Regions from separate parts of the Homo sapiens genome. Here all the other regions are linked to region 1. Evidence: promoter capture Hi-C in 16 types of primary human blood cells and fetal thymus (Javierre and others, 2016). All regions are on one chromosome and are shown on one strand. The core of a region is centred on a gene start or on the middle of the fragment in contact, and the rest is flanking DNA. Distances in the headings are between cores, read along the strand shown.

Evidence for each region. Contacts are between HindIII fragments. The CHiCAGO score rates a contact against its expected background, and 5 or more counts as called.
Region 2: a fragment that was not itself captured here is called in contact with the fragment with the promoter of SDAD1 in region 1 in 1 of 17 cell types (total CD8 T cells); the score reaches 8.9 in total CD8 T cells.
Region 3: a contact is called between a fragment that was not itself captured here and the fragment with the promoter of SDAD1 in region 1, in 7 of 17 cell types (total CD4 T cells, activated CD4 T cells, fetal thymus and 4 more). The highest score is 8.4, in total CD4 T cells.
Region 4: the fragment with the promoter of CDKL2 here is called in contact with the fragment with the promoter of SDAD1 in region 1 in 5 of 17 cell types (naive CD4 T cells, fetal thymus, non-activated CD4 T cells and 2 more); the score reaches 7.1 in naive CD4 T cells.
Region 5: a fragment that was not itself captured here is called in contact with the fragment with the promoter of SDAD1 in region 1 in 1 of 17 cell types (activated CD4 T cells); the score reaches 5.1 in activated CD4 T cells.

What each region holds. Positions count from the first base shown.
Region 1 is chr4:75,988,599-75,994,278 of GRCh38, forward strand. SDAD1 (SDA1 domain containing 1) reads right to left here and starts at 2,347. Exons shown (of 22, transcript NM_018115.4): 1 at 2,154-2,347. The coding sequence starts at 2,243. The region is part of intron 1 of SDAD1-AS1 (SDAD1 antisense RNA 1); the gene reads left to right. The HindIII fragment of the contact is 958 bases long and covers 2,218-3,175 here.
Region 2 is chr4:75,488,090-75,493,769 of GRCh38, forward strand. It overlaps RCHY1 (ring finger and CHY zinc finger domain containing 1), which reads right to left. Exons shown (of 9, transcript NM_015436.4): 5 at 3,800-3,844; 6 at 3,635-3,693; 7 at 3,522-3,548; 8 at 2,492-2,612. Among named protein-coding and RNA genes, the nearest start is that of RCHY1, 23 kb to the right of the region's middle. The HindIII fragment of the contact is 819 bases long and covers 3,875-4,693 here.
Region 3 is chr4:75,507,191-75,512,870 of GRCh38, forward strand. RCHY1 (ring finger and CHY zinc finger domain containing 1) reads right to left here. Exons shown (of 9, transcript NM_015436.4): 2 at 1,987-2,106; 3 at 1,630-1,745. Among named protein-coding and RNA genes, the nearest start is that of RCHY1, 4.4 kb to the right of the region's middle. The HindIII fragment of the contact is 2,019 bases long and covers 2,087-4,105 here.
Region 4 is chr4:75,628,337-75,634,016 of GRCh38, forward strand. It overlaps CDKL2 (cyclin dependent kinase like 2), which reads right to left and starts at 2,192. Exons shown (of 14, transcript NM_001330724.2): 1 at 1,706-2,192. The HindIII fragment of the contact is 1,829 bases long and covers 1,682-3,510 here.
Region 5 is chr4:75,648,979-75,654,658 of GRCh38, forward strand. G3BP2 (G3BP stress granule assembly factor 2) reads right to left here. Exons shown (of 12, transcript NM_203505.3): 8 at 5,005-5,103. Among named protein-coding and RNA genes, the nearest start is that of CDKL2, 21 kb to the left of the region's middle. The HindIII fragment of the contact is 1,397 bases long and covers 1,467-2,863 here.

The DNA of each region.
Region 1 (5,680 bases), core at 1,097-3,596:
GTATATCACCCCCTACTAGAATGTCATTTAATGAGCATAGAATTTTTATCGGTACAGCTCAATATTATGTAGTCCCAGGGCCCAGCATTGTGCCTTACATATAGCAGGTAATCAACAGTATTTGTCAAATGAACGAACTTCAGGAAATGGCACTATCATCTACCTAGACATATAAATAAAAAACCTGGGTGATCCTTCATTCCTTCTTTTTTCCTTATCCCCCACATCCACTCCACCAGAAATCCCAAGGCTCTACTAGCTCTACCTCCACGTAGAACAGCACGAATCTTTGCCCATAATTCCAATGACACCACAATCCCTTGCTTGGTTATTCTGAGATCCATTATATTAGTTACCCTGCTTCCAGTGTTGCTCCTCTACAAGCCATTCCACATGTAACTTCCAGAGTAAATTCTTAAAAAAAATATGTCAGATCATGTCACTCTCCTGCTTAAAACTCTTCAATCACTCCCCGAGGCACTCAGAGTGAAATCTAAACTCGTTAACAGGGCCTAAGAGGCTCTGAATAAGCTGACCCCTGCCTGCATTTCCTACATCATCTTCCACTGCCCTCTTCTATGCTGACTACACTTTAGCTACACTGGCTTCTTCTCTGCTTTTTTTCCACCAGTAGCTTCTGCACTTTCTATTCCTTGTACCTAAAATGATGTTTACCTGCCTGGCTCAATATCATCATTGCAGAGCCACCTTCCCTGTTTACGGGGTCTAAATCAGAAGCCTCCAATTCTAACCTATTCCCATCCAGTTTTATTTTCTTCATAATCTCTACCATAATAAGTCTACACTCACTTGAATGTAAGTCCAAGAGAAGAATGCTTTCTTATCTGTCTTATTCATTACTGTACCCCAACGCCTACCTAGAATAACAACACACAGTAGTTATATGTGATTTTGCATATATACTTAAGTGAATTAAAGAAGTAGTTATTACCCCCTTCTTACATATTAAAATACCCACATAGGCTCAGCGATTAACCTGCTTCGGTTACACAACTGGTTAACAACAGTCAGCAGCAGGAGTTATCTAACGGAATTATATAGACTCTCAACTTACCACTTTCTTTGCGAATGGCTATACAATGCTTTAAGCATCTCAAAGCCTTGCCTATGTTACTTAACTTCTTGTACTTGTTTCCTACTCTTTATTTCCACTACCTTGATCCTTGGAGAGGCTTTCTCTACTGGTGACCTAAGCCACTGAGATTGCCATGTGTTAAAAAGCACTCATAAAATACATATATGTGAAAATTTAGGGGAGGAGGGAAGTGAGAAGGGCAATGAAAAAATAAGTAATTGTGTTAGCCACTGAACAAATCACAATCTGGTAGAAGCACAAACATGTAATTGCAGCAAATGCCTAGCAGAGATACCTGTTTAATGCCCGTCTGATAAATGAGTGTCTGAAGGAAGCACCTGTCAGATTAATATATCAAAAACCACTTTCGTTTTGTCGGTACTTGGTTCAAACACCCCTAATGTTCACAACTTACATGAGGTCAGTACACAAAGCCCATCACAATGAGGGCCTAATTTTTCAACCTAATCTTTTCCCGAAGCAAATTCTGACATCCGAGTCATGCCAGTCTCCGGTAAGTTTGAATCCTGGCTTAACTAAATATACTAAGCTCCCGAGTCTGTCCGTTGTGCTTGAGAAACCCCCCCCCCCCCTTTCCTGGCACAGTCCAGGGTACACAGCCTGCTCTCAGAAACGGACGTCAATCGAAAGCATTCTAACATACGATTCATCAAAGGTTACCGACTAATTCAAGTTTGGGATTTCTGAAAAGAGGCTGAGAAATCCGCGTGGAAGTTGGTGGTTGGGTGCGGCCCATTTCTCTCTCCACTTCCGTGCGGACGAAGAAAAATATCTTAAAACAAAATGAGGTTTTAAAGGTGTTTCAGCGGCAGCAGGGCAGGTAGAAAATCCAAAGGGGCAACAGATTTTCAAGAGGTGGGGAACGAACCCTAAGGCATGTCCCGTCCCCAACCCCTTCTCTCCTCTGGAGGGACCCCTGAACCTAACAGAAGAATAGGCGGCGAGCCTGGATCCCAGCCCCACTCCATGCTTTCCCGCACCGGCGTCTCAACCATCCACTATCCGGCCTCTAGCGTCTGCCGCGCCGCACTCCCACCTCCTCGATGTAGGCCGGCGGGTCTCGCTTGATTAGATTCTGTAACTGCGGCAGGTTGCTGGGAAGCTTGTTGTTGTTTCTGTTGGACATTTTGGCTGCAGACAGACTTCGCGGCGAGCAGTTTTAAAAAAACTCAGACGGCCGGCACCCCGCAATCCCTGCCAGCTGCAGCTTGGACTCGTGTTTCCGGGTATGACCGGAAATAGCGCATGGGACTCTAGGCAGGCGACACCTTAGCGGTTCCTAAAGCGAGCTATGCTACGGAAGCCTCAGAGTGTCAAAATTACTCTCGTTGCCAAAATACTCTGTGGTGTATTGGAGAGCCAGCCACCGCCGACCCGCCCCTCGCCCTTGGGCATATGCTACTACTTAATATTGCCTTGCGTTTCTGAAAGGATCTGAAATGTAAATTTTTTCACGTGTGTTAGCATGTATCGTCATTCCGACACCCATATGAAGCACATAAATGAGGATTAATCGTTTATTTTTAATCCCGCAGTCTAAAATTAGAAACTGACGCCTGTAATCCCAGCACTTTGGGAGGCCAAGGCGGGCCTGAGGTCGGGAGTTCGAGACCGGCCTGATCCACATGGAGAAACCCCGTCTCTACTAAAATTACAAAATTAGTCGAGCGTGGTGGCGCATGCCTGTAATCCCAGCTACTAGGGAGGCTGAGGCAGGAGAATCGCTTGAACACAGGAGGCGGAGATTGCGGTAAGCCGAGATTGCACCATTTCACTCCAGCCTGGGCAACAAGAGCGAAACTCCGTATAAAAAACAAAACAAAACAAAACAAAACTGAAAAGAACCGTGGCGCTAGATAACACTATTCCCTCTTAGGAGGAAAAAAGAGCAACGAGGGTCATATAAGTTAATGTGTATGATTTTAGATATGTTTTTATTTTGGTTTTGGTTGTTTCAACTTAGCGTGACCCATACAAGGGAAAAGAGGGCTGGATAAAATGTGATCATGTTGACCATTAATAAATGCAATTAATCGTTAAAATTCAACCATCGTTATAAGCTTTGTAAGCACTCCTCAGTCAGAGTTTTTAATTCAGATCCTGGTAATTCGAAGAGGAGAATACATTTCTACAATCTCAAGGTGTAAAAAATCAATAAGGGTTGAATGAATGAGGTAGGGTGTTGTGAATTAGAGAGAGAGAAAAAAAAACCTAATTACCCACCCTGTGCCAGGCACTATTCCAAGCACTTGTATTAACTTATTTAATCCTCAGAACAACCCTCTAAAATAGGTGCTATTGTTATCTACATTTTACAGAAGAGGAAACAAGCTCAGGGAAGTTGACTGCCTCAATTCATAGCCTGTGAGGAAGATGAGATTTCAATCTAGACAGTCTTGATTGTAACTACATGAGAAAAAACATAGCCTAACAGCTGGTAGCTGGTTGCTGGTCTGGCAAAATAGCCAGACAATAGGGTTCTGCTTAACCAAAGCAATTTTATAGAACGCCAACCTCATCTGTGACGATGATAAAATGAGCCCCAAACAAAACAACTCTGTAATCACACCTGCACACAAAATAAAGAATGCTTCACAAACCATGTTATTCAGCTGCTTTTGGAGAATGACTTATTTATTAATTATCAAATCAGTTACCTGTGAAGTTAAGAAATAAATGTCAGCAATAAATCTTTTTTAAAAAGCATAGATTTAAATTAAAATTTTTTGGCTAGGTTGTTTTAGTGAGGGCAAAAAAAGTATTCTCAAAACAAAATCTGGCTAAGTGTGGTAGCTCAAGCCTGTAATCCCAGAACTTTGGGAAGCCAAGGTGGGAGAACCACTTGAGCTGGGTAGTTCAAGACTAGCCTGGGCAATATAGTGAGACCCCATCTCTACCAAAAAGTTGAAAAATCAGCCAGGCATGGTGGCACAGGCTTGTGGTCCAAGCTACTGAGGAGGCTGAAGCAAAAGGGTTGCTTGAGCCCAGGAGGTTAAGGTTGCAGTGAAGCACTGCACACCAGCCTGGGCAATACAGTGAGACCCTGTCTCAAAAAAAAAAAAAAAAGAAAAAAGACTGCGTACAGGTACTTGAAAATGTCTGGTGTATTGAAACAATAGCCATAAGTTTGGTGTGACTAAAGGCTGGGAGGGCAGGGTGCAGCAGGGAAAGAGCTGAGAAGGTTATATTGTCCTGATATGAAAGGCTTTAATTGCTATTCTAAGGAGGGCATATAGGTCAGTTCATTTTACCTCCAGCAGCATGGAAGGCAGGATTTGTTTTTGATAAATGAGAACTCTAAGACTAAGAGTGGCTAACTGAATATATATTTTTCAGATGTTAAATAATTTGGGTATCTAAGGCCAACATCTCTGCTTTCATGTGAAATTCCATCCTTTATTTTTAAAATTATAATGTATTTATTTTATAGCTTTATTAAGATATAATTGATGTACAACAAACTACCCAGTGAACAATTTGATAAGTTTTGACATATGTATGTACCCATAAAACCATCATCACAATCAAAATAATGACTATATCCATCATCCCCAAACGTTCCTTGTGCCTCATCATCCCCAGACAAACACACATCTGCTTTCTGTCACCAAAGATATGTCTGTGTTTGCTGGAATTGTATACAAATGGAATCATACAGTACCTATTATTTGAGGTCAAGGTTCTTTCACTTAGCATAATTATTTTGAAATGTATCCATGGTGTTGTATGTATCAATAGTTCACTCCTTTTATTCCTGAGTAGTATTCCATCATATAGACATATTGCAATTTGTTTATCCATTCACTAGTTGCTGGATATTTGGGTTGTTTCCAGTTTTGGCTGTGAACATTCATGTTCAAGTCTCTTTTTAAGAGATAGGGTGTTGCTCTGTCACCAAGGGTGGAGTGCAGTGGCATGATCATAGCTCACTGCAGCCTTGAACTCCTAAACTCAGCCTCCCTAGTAGCTGGGACTACAGGTGGTGTGCCACCATGCCCAGCTAATTTAAAAAAATATATTTTTGGCTGGGCTCAGTGGCTCACGCCTGTAATCCCAGCACTTTGGGAGGCCGAGGCGGCGGGTCACGAGGTCAGGAGATCGAGATCATCCTGGCCAACATGGTGAAACTCCGTCTCTGCTAAAAAATACAAAAAATTAGCCGGGCGTGGTGGCGCGCACCTGTAGTCCCAGCTACTCAGGAGGCTGAGGCAGGGGAGTCGGTTGAACCCAGGAGGTGGAGGTTGCAGTGAGCCAAGATCGCACCACTGCACTCCAACCTTGGTGACAGAGCAAGACTCCGTCTCAAAAAAAAAAAAAAAAAAAAAAAAAAATATATATATATATATAAAAGACAGGGTCTCACTATGTTGTCCAGGCTGGTCTTGAATTCCTGGCCTCAAGTGATCCTCCCGCCTTGGCCTCTCAAAGTGTTGGGATTACAGGCTTGAGCCACCATGTCGTGCCATCAAGTCTCTATGTGGACATAAATATCTTGGTAAATGTCTAGGAATAGAATAACTGGATCAATATGATAGGTTTACGTGTAACTTTTAAGAAACTGCC
Region 2 (5,680 bases), core at 3,034-5,533, 500 kb before region 1:
ACATAGGAAGCACTGTCAAATAAGAAATGATATTTAACCTTTGTGTTATATTTTTATTAAGATTTATTCCAAAATTATATGAGATTCTAAAATTCTTTATGTCGGGGTATATGCTATCAGTCTTAATTATGGTTACTGTGTTATTGCAGGCCACAGAAATAACCAAATTTCCTTGTCAATCATGTCTTTAACTATAACCATTTTAAGTTGTTTCCACAGTTAACTGCTTAATTCTGATGCAGTTTCTCTGAAAACTAGACAAGCAAGCAAAATCCTACAGTACTGTGTCTTCAAGGAGGTTCATGAAAGGATGAAAAGGACCCTGACAAACTCTCTTAAATATAGACTTCTGACAACTTTAGGACTTGGACTGGATAACAATTCCTAGAACTCTAATGGAGAGACTGACTGGTTTATAAAACTGCCAACCCAAGCAGGATAAAAATTGATTGAATACCAAGAAAATACTTTGCCAGATTTTCACACTAAAGCAGCCAGTACTGAAATTGTTTAGATTTCAATCAATTCCACAATCCAAGTCAAATTACCTATAATAACCCTTCAGTTATCAGTGGTAGGCACCTAACCTGGTATTTAAGAGGACACAAATCCAATGTTAAGCATGGACTCATGGAGAACCTGGACAGCCACCTGGCCCTTCCTAAATCCTTAAAGCTTCCATTATTAAAAGTTCTGCATTCCAGCCAGGCAAGGTGGCTCATCACTCCTATAATCCCAGCACTTTGGGAGACCGAGGCGGGTGGATCACGAGGTCAGGAGTTCAAGACCAGCCTGGCCAACATGGCGAAACACCGACTCTACTAAAAATACAAAAATTAGCCAGGTGTGGTGGCGGGCACCTGTAATCCCAGCTACTTGGGAGGCTGAGGCAGGAGAATCGCTTGAACCCTGGAGGCAGAGGTTGCAGTGAGCCGAGATTGTGCCACTGCACTCCAGGCTGCACAACAAGAGCAAGACTCTGTCTAAAACAAACAAAAAAAAAAAGTCTGCATTCCATGGCTCATCATGGAAAAGATAAAATATTCCAAATTTTACATGTATATATAAAATTTATATATATTGCTAAATTGCTAAAATAATTTATGACCAATGTTTGCTTTGTCGAAACCATAATCCTGGGAAGACAATCAAAACTTCACGTACATTTCTGCTACCTGATGGGCCATTTAAGTATTTATAGAAGGATTACATTCAATTGTCATTTTGAATGCATGTTTTCTGGTTGTATAGAAGGTATCCCATGCAAGAGGGTTAACTCTATTACAGTACCTAAAAGGTTATTATAAAATGTGTTTCTCTCATGGGACATTCCTAGAGAAATCTCCAGTGACACAGGTACTTATTTCACTGGATAAGTTGTAAAATAGTTAAATAAGATACTACAGATACAATAGCATTAGGCAAAACTAACTGAATTGACTGGATTGCCTTGGTCAAAGATATTGCAGATTGATGGTAATCAGATCCCCTTGGAGTGGAAAACGTAAGTTGACCCCTTACGAAATAATCACTGGAAGGCCTGTATACCTAATAATAAATAGAATCTCATGTATCTTCCACTACCAAACTCTGATATGACTAAATGCCGCAAGGCTTTTATGCATTATGCCAAAGTGTATTTTCACCAAGTAAAGAAAATTTTGATGGTCCAATGACTAAGAACAATCAAACCCTTCACAATCTAGAATCTGGAGACTGGGTCTCTGAGAACAACATCAGAGAAAGACTGCCTTTTCCACCTACACTAAAGCTTCTGGACTTTGAACTTAGGTTCATTATCTCACATTTCAGAAGGGACCCTCCACACTCTTGGAAGTGGACACCCATGAGAGACCTTAAGACAAAGTTAACCAGGAAAGTTTCTCCCCAGAAGCAAGCAGCATTTTAGTGTGGACAGTTTTTTCCCAAGATCATGAATCAAGACTTCTCTGTAATTATGACTCTTATCTCTCAATTTGTTCCTTGCTTATGATTCTGTGAACAACAGAAGTGAAAAAGGGGTCTCCTGTGTGCACTCCATAAAAATAAGTCTAAGATGGAATAAAAAGGGTAATAAACACTAAAAACCAAAACGTAATCTCAAAAATCAGCAAATATGTTCTCCTGAAATAAAATGTAAAATAATTAAAAATAAAATGTACTTAAAAAGTCCCACCAGTGATCCAACCCTAGTCAGTTATATTACTGACTGACTCTGGCAAGTAATATGTAAACAATTCAGAATGAAGTTTTTGCCTGCCATCTAGTGTTGGGAAAAACTACATAAAGGTATTCTTAAGACTTTTTTTTTCCCGATCTGAGCTACTTAACTAAAATTTAAAAATCATTTTGTGCTTTCCATTAATCATCACATTAGCATCTGTGTCAAACCAGTATATATATATTTTTTTTTTGGCAAATTCAAGCAGGAGGGCAAAAATAAGAGTGCCAACAAGGAGTCTACAAAGTTTTAAGTATTGATTCTACTCACATCCACAGTCATGTTCTGATATTCTGATGGCATAGGAGTCTGTGCTACTTCATCATCCAGCTGTCTCCAATACCTGGTCATATCTAAAGCAGAGTGCATACATAATGGACATCTGTAGCCTCTGAAAGAGATAGAAAGGTTATTTTCCAAATATTAAACAAGAATATATTAATTCAGGTATACAAGAAGATGCAGGCTAACTGCCACATGAACCATTCAAAACAGGCATTTTCCTCCATTTCAAGATAATCTCTTAGGAACCTGGGAACTTTCACACTATAAAACTTTTAAATTAATTCCTGTATACTTATTTAAAACTAAGTCTTTTTCCTCAGTACTCTAAAATGGAGAGGAATTAGTCCATATTCTTTGTAGAATACACTTCATATATTTTTATAAACTAATTAAGCTACTCCTTATCTAAACAACCTTAATTTCTTAATACACTCATGTAAAGAGACTGTATTTGTTTAAAATTATTCAGATATTATTTCCTTTCTAAAAATTTGAAAAAAAGAATGCTCTCTCTAGCTCTTCACATTTTTGCTCATCAATATGTAGGACCAAAATACAGTCTTCTCTTTTCAATTATTTTCATCTAATTTTAATATCTTTTCCATTAATAAAGTCTTAGCTTTAATGATCACTTCACCTACTTTCTTTTAGTTTACTATACTTGGCCAATATAACAACCTAACAAATTTTTGGCAATATTTTTCAGCATTTTTACAACACTATAACTGCATCTGGCAAAAACTGCACTTCCTGGTATATATGGCCAGAAAAAAAAGAGGTAACTACCTCAAATTGTGGGAGGAGACAAGATTTAAGAGAAACATATGGCAAAAGTGTAGTTCTATATCCAAGACACTTTGTCCTGTTTTAACAATATTCATCTACCCTACCCATTTCAATATAAATATTGCCATGCCCAATATAGTATAAGTAACAATGTTTGTCCACCTCCCCACACCACACACACAAAAAAGTCAAACATCTTACAATTATTTTTAAAATCCCAAACACTCACTCTTTCAACATTTCTTCATAACACGTTCTGAAAGAAAATATAAGATTATTTTAGTAAAACAAAAACTGTCTCCACTATTTTCAAACATCATTGAGAAAAAGATGTTACTTTACCTATGTAAAAGATGTCCACATGGCAAGACATGAGCAACAACACGGGATGTGTGAATGTCCTGTAAATGAAATAAATGTTAGTGCTTGTATGAAGACAATATAAACATCCAAGTATTTTAAATTCAAGAGCTGAGACTTCCAAAGTAAAAAATATTTTAAGCCTACCTCCAAACATATTGGACAATTCTGTCGGGACACATTTTCAATACACTGTTTAAAAGAGAAATTCACATTAACAAAAGCTTAACTAGATTAAAATGTCAGGTATAAAAATATTAATAATAAAAATTAACAAAACCAACTTACTAAAAATAATAGCTAACATTAATATATGCTTTTTATATGTAAGAAGAGTTTTTTAATAGTTATTTAAATCTCACACTATTTCAGGCTTGGCATATTATCTGATACAATGAAAATGTCAATAAACATTATTGAGATTACCTTCATTTCACAAATAAGGAAAGTGACTTAGGAATTCAAGACACTTACCCAAGATCCAAAGATAATAAGATTTGGAACCTTTGCATATTATGTATGTTTTACTCCAAAGCCAGTGACCTAAATTAGTAAGCTCAACTTACTAATAATATTGGTAATAATAGTTCATATTATTGAAATTTACTACATGCCATGTTCAGCACAGTACCTGTATAAGATCAATTAAATCTCACAATCCTAGATGAAATAGGCTATGATTGTTATACCATTTTACAGTTAAAGCAGTGGAGGCCTAGAGAAGCTAAGGAACTTCCAAAGTCACACATTAATAAGAGGCAGAATTAAACTGGAGCTCCAGCAGGCTAACTTCAGAGCCAGAGTTCTTAATTTGACAAGATGTAATGTCTGATTAAATCCAAGGAGGTAAGGGAAAGCACTGTGCCATGGAAGACTCCCAGGTTTTTAACGGAAGCACTTAATAGATGGCAGGACCACTTAGTAATATAGACAATAAAAGATAACTGAAAAACAACATAACAAAAAAAACCATAACAAAAAAATAGATGTAAGTTTTTGAAAGATGACAGTATAGTGGGGAGAAAAACCCTCAAAATAATAAGCTTAATAGTAAGTTTAAAAATCTAGACTGTAATCCTAGCTCTGCTATTTACCAGCCCTTGAGATTTTGGACTAGCCACCACTTTAGTCTTAACGTTTCTTATTTATAAAATAAAATTAATACATATTTCATTTGATTCTAAAGTGCACCTCACACATACATTTTAACATCCCCACAATTACAACATATCTGATCATCAGTGGCATCTCTGAGTTGATGGAATGTAAATGCTGAGGTGAGGATGCAATGAATTAGTGTGTGCACACACACTACACATGCTTTGGAAACCAGAACATCATAGAAATGTAATCTATAAGATACTATTGACTCCTGGCTATCTCCATTAGCATAGCTTGCCATCACCCCAAACTCAAGTTTAAAAACCAAACTCAATCTTTTATCTTCAAAAAATTTACAATCTACTAATCAAGTACCTTAAGCTGGGGCTGAAAATCTTCAGAGTCATCTTTACTCTGCCTCATTCTTTTTCCTTAATACCATTACCACATCATATATGTTCATTATTCATCTCAATTTTCCTCACCACTTTACTATTTAGGCCAAGTTCTAGCTAATATTATATTTCTGCAATAACTTCTTATTCTTATATTCTATCGAACCTACTATACTGCTAAGTAAATGATTTCAAACAGTCTCTTTCCAATTAATGTCTATCTGTCTCTCTCTCTCTCAACAGCTACAATGTTGCTACTTATACTGTTCTGCCTTATCTGGAATTTCCTATACTTGAACAAGTACGATTTACACTTCACTTTACACCAATCCTCCATTCTCTTAATTAAATTCTTACAGTAGATAGAATCAGTACTATAATGTAATACTTTATTAGATTTTTTTTTAAATAATGAAAAAGGGCCTGGGATTGTGACATAATTCCTACATCCAGATTTAAAATATGTATGTCTTAATTATAAAAAGAAATAGTAAAATATTTTCTGAATTTTCTTAGAATGTTGTGCTAATTA
Region 3 (5,680 bases), core at 1,846-4,345, 480 kb before region 1:
GGAAAGAAGGGCAATAGAAACGGTAAATATATAACAACAATAGCATATAAAGACTCTTAGTGTTTAAGGTCCTAATATTGTCCAAGAAGTGATAAACATATTATTCTAGTAAGCCAATGATGTATGTTATAATTTCTAGGATAACCACTAAGAAAATAATTGAAAAATGTATAACTAACAAGCCTATAGAGAATAAAAGCAAATAGGAAAGCAACAGATTAATCCAAAGAAGACAAGAAAGGAGAGGAAAAAAGACAAATACTAAGGCAATAGAAACTACCAAAACTGTAGATTGAAACACGAACATATCCTAACTACCTTAATAAAAAACGAACTATATACTCCAATTAAAAGACAGTTTTATCAAACTGGATTGAAAAATTAAAATTCAACTATATGCTGTTTTACAAGACACATGACTTAAATGTAAGTATACAAAAATGTCTAAATGGAAAAGGATATACATGCAAAAACTCATCGAAAGAAAGCTGATATAGATACAGTAGAGCCTAGGGCAGGAAACATTACTAAAGATAAAAAGACACATTATATAATAATAAATGGGTCAATCATACAGGAAAATGTAATAATTTTAAGTATGTGACCGCTGAAAGACATGGCCTTAAAACATACAAAACAAAACACAAAAGAGCATATACTATATGATTCCATTCATTAAAAACTTCCAAAAGTCAGCATACTGGTTACCTTTGGGGAAGTGTATTAATTTGGAGGGGGCACACAGGAAGCTATGAAGGTGCTATGAATGTTGTGTTTCTTGATCTGGGTAGTGGTTACAAAGGCATGTTCATTTGTTAAAATTCATAAAATCATTTGCTTATAATTTCTGTTATCTTTTGGTAGGTTGGTTATCCTTCCTTAAAAACAAACTATATTTTAAAAAAACAAAAAAAACAAAAAAAAAGCAAGAAAGTGATTTAAAATATTCAAGACAGTGATTACCTCCAGCAGGGACAAGAAGAAAGGACTGAACACGGAACACCTTGGGCTTTGACAGTATTGGTAACATTCCTTTCCTAAACTCGGTGGCTTATTCACTGTACTGTACTTTAGACACACTTTACATACATGCTTTAATATACATCTAAAATACTCGAGATTTTTAAGAAAGAAAATAATTCCTTATACACCGACATGTCAACAGTAGCTTGTCTGTGGTTAGGCTCTGGTTATTTTATTTTTATTATTTCTACTTTTCTGTTTTTTCCAATTTTTATAAAATCACCTGTATTTCTTGATAATTTTTTAAATACTAATTTTTACAAAGGAAAAATTTATCCCAATTCTCTACCTCAGTTGCCCATAAAACACTTTATATAAAACATATTTTATAATCCAAAGGTAAAATTCTAAATAGTTATACAATAATTGATGGGTAAATTAAATTATTAACAAATTATGAATAAACTTTTTAGAATGGATATGTTCTATAGCTTGATTGTGCTGATAGTAAAAGAGATACCGGTATTTATCAAAACTCACTTAATTGGACACTTAAAATGAATGTATCTTATCAGATGTAAATTACACCTTAATAAAGTTGATTTTAAAAACTATTATTGCATATACATTAGAAGCAATTAGATAAGAACACTTTACATACAGTACCTACAAATTCCACAGTTTTCACAGTGATACTGCTTCTTATCTTTGTCAAACAAATGGCATATATCGCAATAATATTCTCCAAACAATGTGCTACATTCTTCACAAGTCTGTTGGGCCTAAAAAAGAAACATAATTAAAAACTGCAATAAACTAAACATTTTGAGTTACCATTTGAATATCTAGAACTTATGTTCAACTATATGCAGTTTATTTTTATAAGTTTTGAAACACCTAAACCAAAGATATTGCTTATTCTAGAAGTTAAAGAAATCTTATTTATGATACTTTTGATTAAATTTTTTCAAACCACCTTAATACAGCTTTTAAAAAGAAAATAGAAATGTCATAAAATCTTACATGTTGAATTTTTTCACAGTTTATGCACTGCACTTCCTTCACTTTAAAGCGATCTAGTTGATGATCTTCATTGTTATCATGACACAAGCGGCAAGTATAAAGCTTGTCACAGCAAGGTGCCTAACACCCACGGAGAAAAAAGAGATATAGTAAGAAGCAAAAGAAACTAAGTGTGCAATACAAAAAGAAAATTTCTTCCTCCTCCTCCTGGATGGAACTGAAAGATTACAACCAATAGATCAGTTGCTAAACTGATCCTAAACATAACATTTCACTAGTTTCTTGGCATATTTTATGTTAATTCTTCCCTTCAACATCACTACGTCTGTATGAAGTTGAACACAACTTTAAAACAAAAGAATTATGAAGGAAATCCCTAGATTGAAACACTAATCCCACAACACCTGATATGCTTTGGCTGTGTTCCCACCCAAATCTCAACTTGAAATGTATCTCCCAGAATTCCCACGTGTTGTGGGAGGGACTTAGAAGGAGGTAACTGAATCATGGGGGCCAGACTCTCCCGTGCCATTCTCGTGATAATGAATAAAATCTCATGAGATCTGATGGGTTTATCAGGAGTTTCCACTTTTGCTTCTTCCTCATTTTCTATTGCCACCACCATGTAAGAAGTGCCTTTTGTCTCCCGCCATGATTCTCAGGCCTCCCTAGCCATGTGGAACTGTAAGTCCAATTAAACCTCTTTTTCTTCCCAGTCTTGGGTATGTCTTTATCAGCAGTGTGAAAACAGACTAATATAACACCCCAATTTCATTCTGAGCCTAAACAGCAAACAGGCAACCTCTTCTTAGACATTTCCAGATAAATTCATTTACATTAAAAATAATAAAGATTATATTCTTATTTTACTAGCTTTTATTAATCATCAACCTCATATCTAATATTGCACAAAATGCAACAAATGTAAGAGACAGCCCTTGTTTTCAAACACGGCAAAGACTGCCAGTTGTCCACCAAAATCTATCCTCTCCTTCCTGGGCACAATTGTTCAGCTATATCAGACAGATGGCCACATGCCCTAAAACATGACAAAATGATACAACAGAAAAATCTCATCCCTGGAGTGACCATGTGGAGCAAAGCCTCATCACCAACCTGCATCACTCGCCTTGGAATTGTTAAATGGAAAGAAATAAAACCTTTACTCTTTAATCTACATCACTGTTGGGTTTTTTCATTACAGCAACTTTACCATTACAAGTATATCAAGAGATTTCCAGGCCAGTGACTTTCCAATACACTGTGACCTTGCAGATCCACTCATTTCTGAAGGCTTCCTATGCCTTGACTTACCATAACGTAGTTCATTCCTTAAAGATTTTAACACTTAACTGGCTTCCTTTTTCTGCAACTCTCAGTTCCTTAACTTTGTCATTTCCAATAACCTTGTCCTCCAACCCACTATTCTCATAGTTATACCGCAGAACAGTAGTTCTCAAATGGTTTGGTCTCAGGATCCCTTCACACTTTTTAAAATTACTGAGAATCCCAAAGAGCTTTGGTTTATGTGGATTTTATCTATTGACATATACCACATCATAAATTAAAAAGAATAGGTTTTTAAAATATTACTTCTTTTTAAAAGTAACAAACTCATTACTTGTTAACATAAATAACATGTTTTAATGAAAAATAACTATATTTTTCCCCCCAAACAGCTGAATTCTTCTATCTGCTTATGCATTCAAACAGTTGTGGCTGAAGTACAAAAAGAAACTCTGGCCTCACACAAATATGTACACTGGAAAAGAAAGGAGTATTTTAATAGCCTTTTTGGAGAATTATGGATATCATTCTCTGATATTACACTAGAACAACAACTCTTAAAGGGTAGTTGCAACATGAAATCTGAAATCGTATCAAGGAATATGATTGATATGATGCCTCTTTTCTTCCTTGGTTACATTAAAATCTATTGCTCTATCTTGCACTTCAAATGGATGTTTTACTCATGCATTGGTCATCTGGAGAATACCAGTTCAGTGAGTTATTTACATCTTCTAAATGTTCACACATTTAACATGCAATATCAAAAAATCATATTCATTAAAAGTCTTTAGGTATTGAAGAAAATCTCACCAAAAAAAGTCTTTTAAAAAGCTTCCAACCTCACAAAAGCTAGTAAAAGTTTTCCAAAATTCTAATTTTTGTGTGAAAGCTTGAATTTTATCACTGGCAACAAATACTGTCATTTTCATTTGTAGTGAGTCTCACTTTTCTCCTTTTTGAGAAAATGTCTGCCAACTACCCAAATGTGAATGACTACAATTTTTTCAAGTAAAAAATGCTGTTCCATGAAAAAAAGCAACTAGTTCACTTTACAATCCAATTTGCACAAGAGCTTTTCCTCAAGACAACCCTCTAATTTCAGTTTGCAGAAGTGTTTGATCAAAACTTCCCATGTCATTGAACAGCATATTAAAAGATATATTCAAGGGTTGAGATTTGGTTAAAATTAACGATTTTACTGCTTTATCAACATTTTTAAGTGAAGCTGGCTTTTTAAAAAAACTATAGGTGTAGTATAGTTCAGTGCCACTGTCTTGATTCAAGCTAAGATACTAGCAATACTAAACAGTGCTTTTCCACCATCAATGCGTGTGTCAACAGACTGAAAAAAAAAAAAAACAAATATCTTAGTGTTCATAGAAAGTAGTTTTGGCCTTGCAGAGCCCCTGAAAGGACTTCAGGAATCCCCAGGGTTCCATTCACCACACTTTGAAAACCAATGCTACAGAACAACGGCACCCTCTTTGCATCTCAATTCCAAGCATGAAATTCTCTAACCATTACCTCCTCCCTAACTTACTCCAAGTCTCCCCTTGCAACACCCTAGTTCCCTTCTCAGTTCCTCTACACTCATAGATAACAATCCCAACCCTAGTTAAATCCTATTTGACTTCTATCAGAAGCAGGTGAATATGGCTAGAGAAAAAGCATCACCGTCCTTGCTGGTTCATATGAGGTGGACACTTACTACCACGTTTCCCTGGTCAATTCTCTCATTCTTCCAGAGTCTAAGACCTAAGATTTAGATGATCATTTCACTTCTTCTCCTCTGGCTTTAAAACTCTAACAACTCTTCCTCCTTAACACTCTGCTGATGACCTTATTTCACTATAAAAACAGTAAACATACTTCCTGCTGACAGGCCTGAAAAGAACATCCTCCTATTATCTCTATTAACTTACTTGCAAATATACCTCATTCTCTGCCTTCCCTTAGGAAGAACTGACAGTCTATGTTTCTAAGGCCAACTCCTTCACTTGTGCACTGGATTTCATCCCCTTTGGCTACTCAGGGACAATGCCCTTACAGTTTTCTCACTCTCTCCTGCATTATAAAACGTTCTCACTCTATTGTATCATTTCCTAGAATATACAAACATGCTGTAATACTTCCTCTCTTAAAGAGGAAAAAATATGGTGCCAGATCTCCCAGCAACCACATCTTTTTTTTGCTCCCCTTTACAGCTAAACCCCAAGAATACCCTATAAGTGCTATTTTCAATTCCACTCCTCCCATTCTTTCCTAAATTCACTCTAATCCTGATCTCTCCACTAAAACTCCTCTTGTCAAGATCACCAGTGACCTCTTCCTTGCCAAATCCAAAGGGCAATTCTCAGTTATCTTACTCAAACAGCTGCATTTGACCCAGCTGACCACATCCTCC
Region 4 (5,680 bases), core at 942-3,441, 360 kb before region 1:
GATCTCCTGACCTCGTGATCTGCCCGCCTCGGCCTCCGAAAGTTCTGGGATTACAGGCGTGAGCCACCGCGCCCGGCCTTGAAATTTTTTACTCATATTATATGACATTTTCTGAATAAAGGCAATCCTAAGAGAATCTTTCTTGTTTTACCAATGATTGACGAAGGTCCAGCAATCATTGGACAAAATGCTTTCGTACAGAAAAAAATTATTTCAGTCCAAATACAGATAGATTTTAACTATCTATTATTTCAGTAATAATAGATAAAAAATTATTTCAGTCCAAATACAGATAGATTTTAACAAGAAATAATTCTTGCCTGTTGTATTAATTGTATACTTACGGCAATCTAAAATTTACTCAGATCGTGAACTGTTTTTCCTATTTCTCTATTGGAACAGTGATGCAAAGACAAAACAAATATTCTCTTTGTTCTAGCAAACTATGCTAATCCAATGTATACAATACGTTTTCCACACTTGACATATAATAGTTTGAGATTTTATAATATATATATTTTTAATGTAGCTATATGTGGAGAACCAGAAGATTGATCTTGAGGGGTGGGAAATGAAAACAATACCAATGAACATCGACTTAAATTATTATTTTACTACCAGTTTTCATAGTAGATTCTACTACAAACTTTTTACAGAGCAGTGTCCCAGACACTAACTTTCCATGCATTTGACATTTTACCTTCTATTCCACTTCCATTAACTATTTTTTAATAAACTGTTTGTATTTGAAAAAAAAAATCTCCATATAATTCTATCCCTTCTTAATTTTTTTCTCTTCCATTAAGAGAGTATGTTTTATTAAGCACTAGGCTTTAGGTTTATCATACCAATGACAAAAATAGCTTGAATCTATAACCTGGATTATTTTAAAACATTTTGTAATTGATGTCCTCAATATTTGAAAGCACAAAGTGAACCAAAAAAAATGACTTTAAGCATGTCTGAGGTGTTCTGAAGCATATCCCAAGCTAACATTAATGCAAGTTGACTGCTTCAAGTTTATTCTCCCAACCAATTGCATATCTGGACACACCACATTGAACACACCTGCTTTTTCAAGTGACACTGTCCACAAATACTTTAAAAGTATCACAGCCTACAAAGCCTCCTGTTTCCTGAAACAGTTACTCATAAACTATAACTTCTCATGCCTTCTACTCTTGAACGGAAAGGTAATACAAACGAAAAAGAAACCTGGCCAATGGGCAAGGTGTTATTTCTGGATGGTTCTAAAAGCAACAATTTTGATAAAAATATTTGGAGAATGCTAATTTTTTATTTTGTTTAAGACAGATTAAAGGGCCGGGAGCGGTGGCTCACGCCTGTAATCCCAACACTTTGGGAGGCCGAGGCGGGCGGATCACCTGAGGTTGCGAGTTCGAGACCAGCCTAACCAACATGGAGAAACCCTGTCTCTACTAAAAATACAAACTTAGCCGGGCGTGGTGGTGATGCCTGTAATCCCAGCTACTTGGGAGGCTGAGGCAGGATAATCGCTTGAACCCAGGAGGCAGAGGTTGCGGTGAGCCGAGACCATGCCATTGCACTCCAGCCTGGGCAACAAGAGTGAAACTCCGTCTCAAAAAAAAAAAAAAAAAAAAAAAAAAAAAAAAAAAAAAAAGATTGAAATCTTTTATAGATCAAAGAACGAGATAATAGAAGCTTTAAAACGTACTATACTTACCGTTTCTTCAATCCGTTCGCATAGAAAGACCCAAAGGTTTTCAACTTGGAAACAAATTTGAGGTGAAATGCATATGGTTCGCAGGTCCAAAAGATGCTGCCTAGCAAACTAGCAATTCCAGCGCTGTTGTGATTTCTTCTGCGGACGCAGTCACGAGTCCAGGGCGAAGCAGGCAGGGAGGCAGGTGGGCCTCGGTCCGCCGCAAGCTCACACTTAGGAGGACCACGGGCCGCATGCTGTCGTCGTCAAGGCAACGACCTCACTCTGTCCCCAACCATAGGCACAAAGTCTTGGGAGACAGATACGGCCCAGGTCAGAATGCGTTCACGGCAGGCACCAACACCTGTGAAGGCCAAGGGCTAGAGAGCAATTAGCTGGGTGAGAGGCACCACCTCCCAGCTCGTAAGGCGCCCAGTACCTGGAGCCTGGGAACCTGCACCGCTCCAACTACCCCTGGGCGAAGGCGTTGGCCGCGGAGCTGCAAGGGGGGGCGGTTTCTCACCCGCCCCGAGAGCGCCAGGCCTCCCTTCTTCTGATTGGCCGAGCCGAGTCGTCACGAGCCATGATTGGCTCAGGGCCAACCACCCCGCCCCTTCACCTAGGGCTCGGCCCAGGTTCTGCTCCCTGACACGCAGAGGCCCTGCGTCCCCACACGCCTTGGTTCTCGTCAGGAGGCGCCTTTCTGCCTTCCCCAGCGGGAGGAGGCGATTGTGATGCCCACGCGAAGGGTAAAGGTGGCGGTTATGTAGGACTGCGAAGACTATGCAAAATGCGATACGGTTTCCCTCATAGCATCGCCGCTGGGGCAGGGGCGGGCGCCGGGCGCCCTGAGTCGCGTAGGCGCGGCCTGACCGGGATTCCATGCTTCCTTTCTGTTCTGGGCGGTGGGGCCAGTGTGAGCCAGGTAGGAGATAACGGTGACAGTTTAGGAGGTGATGATTAGTAGGCGAGGCAAGGTGGAAGAAGGTAGGTGATGACAGACCTGACGTTAGGAGGGACCTTGGGAAGGCCAGTCTGGCCATTGAAAGTGAGGGAAAACACTGAGATGGAGGAAGGGGAAGAGAGGGCATGAGTGGAATGGGAAAGCGCTGGGATGGCTGGGGATCTGGAGGACACGCACAACACCCGCGTATGGCAGCCAAATGGGGTGGAGTTAGGGCTTGCGATAAAACTTGCCTTAAATGCAAAAATGCAGCTCAATCCACGACTGAGCAAGACTGGTAGGTCAGAATCATGCACAGGCTTAAATCACACAGGAACAGAGCTTACCCCATTTTCAAAGAATCTGAGGCAGCGAGGAGGCCATAAGGCCAGTAAAATAACACTTTCAATCATGATAACTAAATGTTCATGATCATTTTGGTCTCGAAACTACTTTGATTTAGGGAATAGAGTGTCCTGGATAGACAAATGTCTACCATATACCCTAGTCAATATTAAGGTATTAATCATTAATGTTAAGGTATTGATTCCTTCTTGTACATTAAGAAATAGACATTCTTTTTATAGTCTTTTGTGAGTTTGGTTAGTTTGCATTAATCTCCCAGTGGTTAATTACCTTGGTCAGACTGCTTAAAATCTAGTTCCTGAACCTGTAATATTGAGAACCAGACCTGAGGCCTAGTTATGGAAAGAATAGAATTATTTGGTCAATTCAAGATGTGACTCTTAGTGTAGCAATTAGCTCTGTCCTTAGCTGTGTCCAAGTTGCGAGAAGCCCTGTCCCATTTGGTACCTCTATAGGCTATAAGAGAATCTGATGAACTTCTTTTATATGGGGGTAGATTCAGTTTTGTTGGGCCTGAAGCTTAAGAACAAGAGCGCAAAACTATTTTACTTTTGCAACTTTATAATCATATTCAACCGTATAACATTTTAAGGCCCCTTCATGCAAGAGGCCTAGAAGCTTCAATAATCTATTTATATCTCACAGGGAACCAAAGGATAAAGACTGAAAATACTGGATTTGGCGAACAAGTGATGCTTTAGGAAACAATTTCAGCCAGATGCGGTGGCTCATGCCTGTAATCCTAGCACTTTGGGAGGCCAAGGCGGGCAGATCACCTGAGGTCAGGAGTTTGATACCAGCCAGGCCAACATGGTGAAACCCTGTCTCTACTAACAATACAAAAATTAGCTGGGCATGGTTGTGAACGCCTGTACTCCCAGCTACTTGGGAGACTGAAAAAAAGAAAACAAACAAACCAAAAAAAAACAATTTCAGTAAGAACTGAGTTTGAAAGCCAGTTGTAGAGGACAGAGGTTATTAAAGACTTACACATTCTGGCCATCTACAGGATTGTTAATAGAGAAGGTATTATGTAGAAACAGGATTGTGTTACTATTTTTTCTTTCTTTTCTTCTGAGGCGGAGTCTCACTCTGTTGCCCAGGCTGGAGTGCAGCAGCACGATCTTGGCTCACTGCAACCTCTGCTTCCTGGGTTCAAGCGATTCTCCTGTCTCAGCCTCCCAGGTAGCTGGGATTACAGGACCCCACCACCACGCCTGGCTAATTTTTTTCTTTTTTTAGTAGAGGCAGGTTTTCGCCATGTTGGTCAGACTGGTCTCGAACTCCTGACCTCAGTTGATCCGCCCGCCTCAGCCTCCCAAAGTGCTGGGATTACAGGCGTGACCCACCGCACCCGGCCTATTTTTTCTTTTTAAAGAGGGAAATATTTATAGGGAAAAAGAGTGGGGAGAGACCTTAAAGGGGCAAGAAAATGAATAATTAATGAAAAACCAAGGAGAGGTACTGAAGAGTAGGTAATAATATATGAGAAGGGGTTAGGCTTGAAGAGGTTTAGAGAAAATGGAAAAAACTGAGAAAAGTGTAGGGCATACACTGTGGGCCCAGGCCATCTCAGTAAAAGAACTTTATTTTTGCATAAAAAGGTAATGGTGAGATAGAGGCTTAAGGATTTGAGAGCAGAAATACGTTAGAATAGTTAAGAAGTCATTTTGATATAAAAGGAACACAAAATAGTAAAAATGTGCTCACTTGAGCCTGGGTACCATGAATTTACAGTGAACCAACTGACACTGTTGCCCAGAATTGGGCAACCCCAAAGGAAAGAATGGAGAAAATAGATGATATATAAGCTGCCTCTTTTAGAGAACTGGTAATGCAAAAAGATTAAACAAAGGAGTTAAGGAATTTCAGAACAAGGATCACTGAGAAAAAAAAAAGGAATCAAAGATGCTGAAGAAAATACCATTAAAATTGCTTGCCATGGGCTCCTGCTAAATAGGAAGATAAATTTTGACAGCAGTTAGCTAATAAACTGAAAACGGAGGCACTGAGGGTCTGGAAGTCATCATAGGCATGAATAATAAGTTTAAAGGAGCAATATAGGAGGAAAAAGTTATCAGAGAAAGCAGTTTGTGTATTCCAGATGTTGGAAATGGCACAGGATGATCAGTTCTAAAGGGTGGAGTATTTGGCTGTTCCTTGGGTAGCTGAAGTTGAGTGGAAAATGTCATTGAGTTCAAAGAAACTTGAGGTCACAGTATGAAAAATTCATTAACATGAACTACCAAGTAGGACTATAGTGGAAGAGGCTGAGAAAGACATTAATCAGTGAAGAAAGTGAAAATGTTCTAAAAATCTAAAGAAAACAGTATGGGAGTGCATGAGGTAGATGTCAAGAGAGGACAGCTTGAGAGATGGCAATGGCAATGAAATAAATGTGAAATAGATTAAGGACCATATGACCCAGCAATTCCACTTCCAGGTATTATAAGAGAAATAAAAACATGTTCACATAAAAACTTACACACAAATGCTCACAACAGCATTATTAATAACCAAAAAAACAGAAAAAACCCAAATGTCCATCAGCGGAGGAATAAAATTTGGTGTATTCAATTTAATGGAATATTACTCAACCATAAAAGGAAGTGCTGATACATGATGGATGAATCTTGAAAACACTATGCCAAGGGAAAGAAGCCAGACACAAAAAGGCACGTGTTATA
Region 5 (5,680 bases), core at 915-3,414, 340 kb before region 1:
TTTTACAGTCACATTTTTTCATTAAAGTTATATCAACACTGAAATAGCATAAAAGGTATTGCTACCAAAAAAAAAAATCACAAAAATGCAAGATGAACCACTCCATGTAAATACATAAACAAAATTAAAAGCCATCTTCATCTTAGACAAGAATACATAACACATAATTTCTGAAAATCTAATTTGCTATCCTTCAAATGTAACAGTGCTCAGTAGTATTGCCTAAATCTCTGCCCATAACCTTAAAATCAGTATTTTTATAGTTCAAAGTATAAAAATTAGCTTGCTCTAACACCTGAAATTGCTACCTGTAAGGTTAAAATGCATGTTAAAAAAATGACAGAAACTTATAGGAACTTGTATGTAGCATCTCAAATAGTTAAAGTCCTTTAGCTCCCTACTGTTCTTCCTTATGAGAAAAATATGCATTTGAAGTATTGGTCCCAACGATTTTCCTTAACTAGGGGTCTGGGAGTAATAGGACAGTTTAAGATGCCTCCCAAAAGTTTCTGCCAACTGCTGAATTAAACATATAATTATTTTTAAAACAAAATTACATCGGCGTCTGCTATTACCTTTTCCTCAAGACAACAGCATTTTCAGTATTCCCAACCTCTTCAGACCTTCTACTACCCAAATATTTATGGTCCAAGGAGAGACAAATATATGAGCCTACAAAGGATGCTGAAAACACCCAACAGGATATGGAGAACATGTCCTCAACTCAGAAAGCTAGTAATTTCAGTCCCATCTTTAAAGATGGTCATCTCCATGTAATCCCAGCACTTTGGGAGGCCAAGCTGCGCGGATCACCTGAGGTCAGGAGTTTGAGACCAGCCTGCCCAATATGGCGAAACCCAGTCTCTACTAAAAATACAAAAAATTAGCTGGGTGTGGTGGCAGGCACCTGTAACCCCAGCTACTTGGGAGGCTGAGGCAGGAGAATCGCTTGAACCCGGAAGACGGAGGTTGCAGTGAGCCAAGATCACGCCACTGCACTCCAGCCTGGGCAACAAGAGTGAAACTCCTTCTCACAGAAATAAATAAGTAAATAAATAAAAAAGTGGTCATCTCTGAGGACCTCAGTCCATGCAGCGGCTCAAACTCTTTAATCATTTATATAACAGATATTGTAATTTACAAGGACAAATTCTGACACAAAAATGCTTCCTTCAGCCAGGCACAGTAGCTCATGCCTATCACCCCAGCACTTTGGGAGGCCGAGGCGGGCAGATCACCTGAGGTCGGGAGTTCGAGACCAGCCTGACTAACATGGAGAAACCCTGTCTCTACTAAAAATACAAAATCAGCCGGGTGTGGTGGCACATGCCTGTAATCCCAGCTACTAGGGAGGCTGAGGCAGGAGAATCACTTGAACCTGGGAGGCGGAGGTTGCGTGAGCAGATCATTGTACTCCAGCCTGGGCAACAAGAGAGAAACTCCATCTCAAAAAAAAAAAAAAAAAAAGCTTCTTTCAAAAATGACAATTTAATGTAAATGATTTCAGCCACTGTAACCAAAAGGAATATTAACTCCTATGCTAACAGTTTAACCAAGTTTGCCTGCCTCTTCCTAAATTCTGTTTTCCTCTATGTCAATGTCCTATTTCCCTCAAGATGAAGTTGCTTACCATATTCTAGAATTCTACTAGTTATAAAATGAATATTTTTAACTCTCTCCAGGTTTTGTTGTTATTTATATGTATTTACTCCTATAAAGTCTGTATCTTTTATTTTTTTAGAGAGACACAGTCTTACTCTATTGCCCAGGCTGGAGTGCAGTGGCACAATCATAGCTCACTGTAACCTCAAATTCCTAGGCTCAAGTGATCCTCCTGCCTCAGCCTCCCAAGCAGCTGAGACTACAGGCACGCCAGTGCCCAAGGCCCATATCTTAACTTACTTTTACATCACCCAAAGAACCAAGCACAGTGCTATTAGACACAGATGTTCAGTAACTATTTGTTCATTTAAATTAAATTACATTTTTAGTTCTCTGACCCAAAACATGCAGGATAATGTTCTATGTCTGACAAAGATACGTAAGTGACAGCCCTGAGACCACCGCTATCTGTATTTGGGGTTTAATTCTATATAATAATTTGATGCAAAATGTGATGCTGAAAAAGGCAGTTATTTAGAAACTTCAACTAAGGGGGTCTAAAGGCATACTTCAGTATGAATATAAACAGAATTAGAGAATAAACGTACTCTGTCAAAGTTTAATAAAGTGAGTGTATTACTGGCAATTAATAAAAACACTAAATGCACCTTTATTACAAAATTTAAGAAAAACCTTAGACTCATTCAATCCAAATGTTATCAAAGAACTTGAGGCCCTGGTCTTGACTGATTTAAATTCTTTTCAAAACAGATTATCAAAACACGAGTAACTACAAGTAGCAAAATAAAGTTCTTCCTTATTCTTTAAGGATGAAAATTAAAAACAGATAAAGTTAAATATTAATAATTTCCAACATCTTACAAATAATTCATGCCATTGATTTAGGAATCTGACTTTAAGTAGATATCTGATGATGCCAGTTTAAGAAAAATACAAGAACAAAAAGCTAACACTGTCCCTTTCAGTAACTGATTGACATATGTTAACTAAGTCAGCTGCATACTTATAATTCTTCAGGTCTCCAGTTTCATGATTAAAACTAGTTTTTCTGAACAGATAACATGGCCAATATGCCACACAGTAGAGGGCCTTAAAATTAATTCCATGCAACCAGAAAGTATGATCAAATGACAAACCCACAAATGAAGGTCAAACAGAATATGAAGTAAGTACAGAACCATCAAATCAAGTCAATAAAAGCAGGTATAACCACAAATAATAAGCCCTTCAATTAAACATAAGCTTTGTAGGTGAACTAGTCAATTTCCAGACAAAATATTTTATTCAAGAAATTAACTTACCTACTTCTAAGTTAATGCCTACCAATACCCTGGAATTAACTTCCTTTTATCAATAATCTATGTTCAAAGTACAAGGAAATGAATACTACACAAAAGTAACAAACTAAAATTGAAGGATTATTAAATCAAGTAGAAATATCATGAATCCATTTTAAGTATAGCCTAAAGACATTAGAACGTTCTTTTAAAGTTTAAATTCTAAACATTTAAAATTTTTGTTTTATTAAAGGGGTGGCATAGGAAATACAACTTCATTTCCTACAACTAACTTTGAAAATATATTTAAGGCAAACTACTTGAGATAAATATGAAGGTATTTTTCTGGGCAAGAGACTAGGATTTAATCAGGCATGTCTTAAGAGTCCTCTTTGATGCAAATACAGATAAGATACATGACTCTGCAGCAAGGTGCTGGAGAATTGCATAAGGTTTACATGAGGCTGGGCGCAGTGGCTCATGCCTGTAATCCCCACCGTTTGGGAGGCCAATGCGGGTGGATCACTTGGGTCAGGAGTTTGAGACCAGCCTGGTCTACATGGTGAAACCCCGTCTCTACTAAATATACAAAAATTAGCCAGGCGTGGTGGCGGGCACCTACAATCCCAGCTATTCGGGAGGCTGAGGCAGGAGAATCACTTGAGCTGGGGAGGTGGAGGTTGCAGTGAGCTAAGATAACGCCACTGCCACTACCACTGCACTCCAGCCTGGGCGACAGAGCGAGACTCTGTCTCAAAAAAATAAACGTTTACATGAGCCACATATGGACTCATGTCCCACTGCATGACTTCAAAGCCCAACCCTACTATGTACATAAATGTCTGTGAGTTACTCTAGACCTCAATTTTTTGATCTCTAAAACAGAAACAATAGTACCCACCCTGACAGGGTGGTTGTGAGGATTCACTGAAAATGAACAAAAAGTGCTTCACACAATGCTTGGCGCATATCAAAGGCATAAGCACTAGCTATTTTAACTTTTAACTGTTTAAACTCTCTGAAATGAAATAATCCAAAGGTTCCAAATCCAAATCTGATAGGAAATGAAGATTCCAAAAGAAGGGCCAAAAGTTATTTATTGGGTCTTCATATGGGTAGAAAAGCACAAAACAATACTGCACAAACTAATTTCCTTTGTTAAGATGGAACTCTGGGTGACCATCTTACATAAGGGTAACCACGCATTGCCTGAATACCCAAATGAAAAAAAAAAAAAAGTATCACGGGCGTATTCTACTTTTATGTAGCTGATTATGTGTCCCAACACCAAAAAACTAAAAATTACTACTTTTAAAACCTCAAAATTTCACTGCTTAGAACATATAAAAGATACATTTATATACTAACATTTCAAACATAAATTTTCTAGTGGAATGAAGTTTAATGCAAAATGTAGGGAAAAAATTGGACACCCTTTATATGCTGATAAACTTAATTAGAATTTAGTTCATTCTAAACTAAATCTAACAAACTTCTTAGGTAGGCAGTGTCTTATTTTCACATTTTTGAAAGCTCTGAAATGGGTAAGATGACAAACAGACAAAAAGCAGAATACTAGAATGATCAGTTAAGGTGAACACTACAGTCATAAGTTGGTACAGGCTTCAATTAAGTGGTGTGAACCACTTACACACTGAGAGCTTAGGCAGCGTATGTTAAAAAGTTTCCTGGTTTTTTTTTTTTTTGCTTTAAAAAAAAAAAAAAAAACAAAAACGATTCTTTATTACGCCACACTACTTTGTGCCTCTCCGAATTTCTTACCTAAAATATTTTTGCTAAATAGAATTTGAAGCTTTTGAAAAAGGAACATTCTTTTTGTTATTTTAAGAAGCCTTTTAAATGACAATATTATATACTGGTAAAAACCAACTTAATCTGTATTTCACACACCCAAACCCCAAATACCACCTATGTAGATGATGAATGGAGATTTGACATTTAAAGTGGGTGCACTGACATATAATACAAGTTTTTTGTATATTTAATCCATAATTTCTGATTGACTCATTTTTAAAAGTATTTTAAAAATAAGCAATTGGCAATGTAACAAGGATACAATCCAATGTGTTCACAGATTGGTTACCTGTGAGACTGGTGCTTTAACATGGGGTGGAATTCCAGAGGAAGAAACAGTACCACTAGGAGGCAGGTTTTTACTGGTCACTGAAGCCCAGGAGAAAGCCTGCAGGAAATGCAACAAACCTAGACTACTAATCATGGAAAACCACCAACATTCCTATAGGGAAACTTCCAAATATATATTTTCTTTTCATTTCTAAACTATTGCTCTATATTGGAAGACTCCTAAAAGAAAGGCACACACACACATGCCAGTCTATGTGCCAGCTTTCAAAATCTCATTATGCAAGCTTATTTATAACTTTTGTCTGACTACTAAGTAAAACCATAAGCAAGTTCCTACGTACTCTAAGTAGATGAGCAAGTGGCAAACAAAACCACTAACAAACATGCTAGAAAAACCTGAACCTAATAGAAACAATTTATTTCCCCTTTGGGGGTAAGATAGGGTGTGTGATGGTGTTAACGGGAGAGGGAAGGATAGGAAAGAAGAGAGTATTAGCTGGAAACTCTGACATTCACAAATTGAACAAAGAATCTCCTCCTATCACCACTCAAATATACTTTAACCTTTGACTTTGAAGAAAGATAAAAGAAGTTTCAGGTAGGCTTACATGATACACTAAGGATGTCACTCATCTTTCCAAGATAGTTTAATTGGTGTAGAAAGGAAACTGATC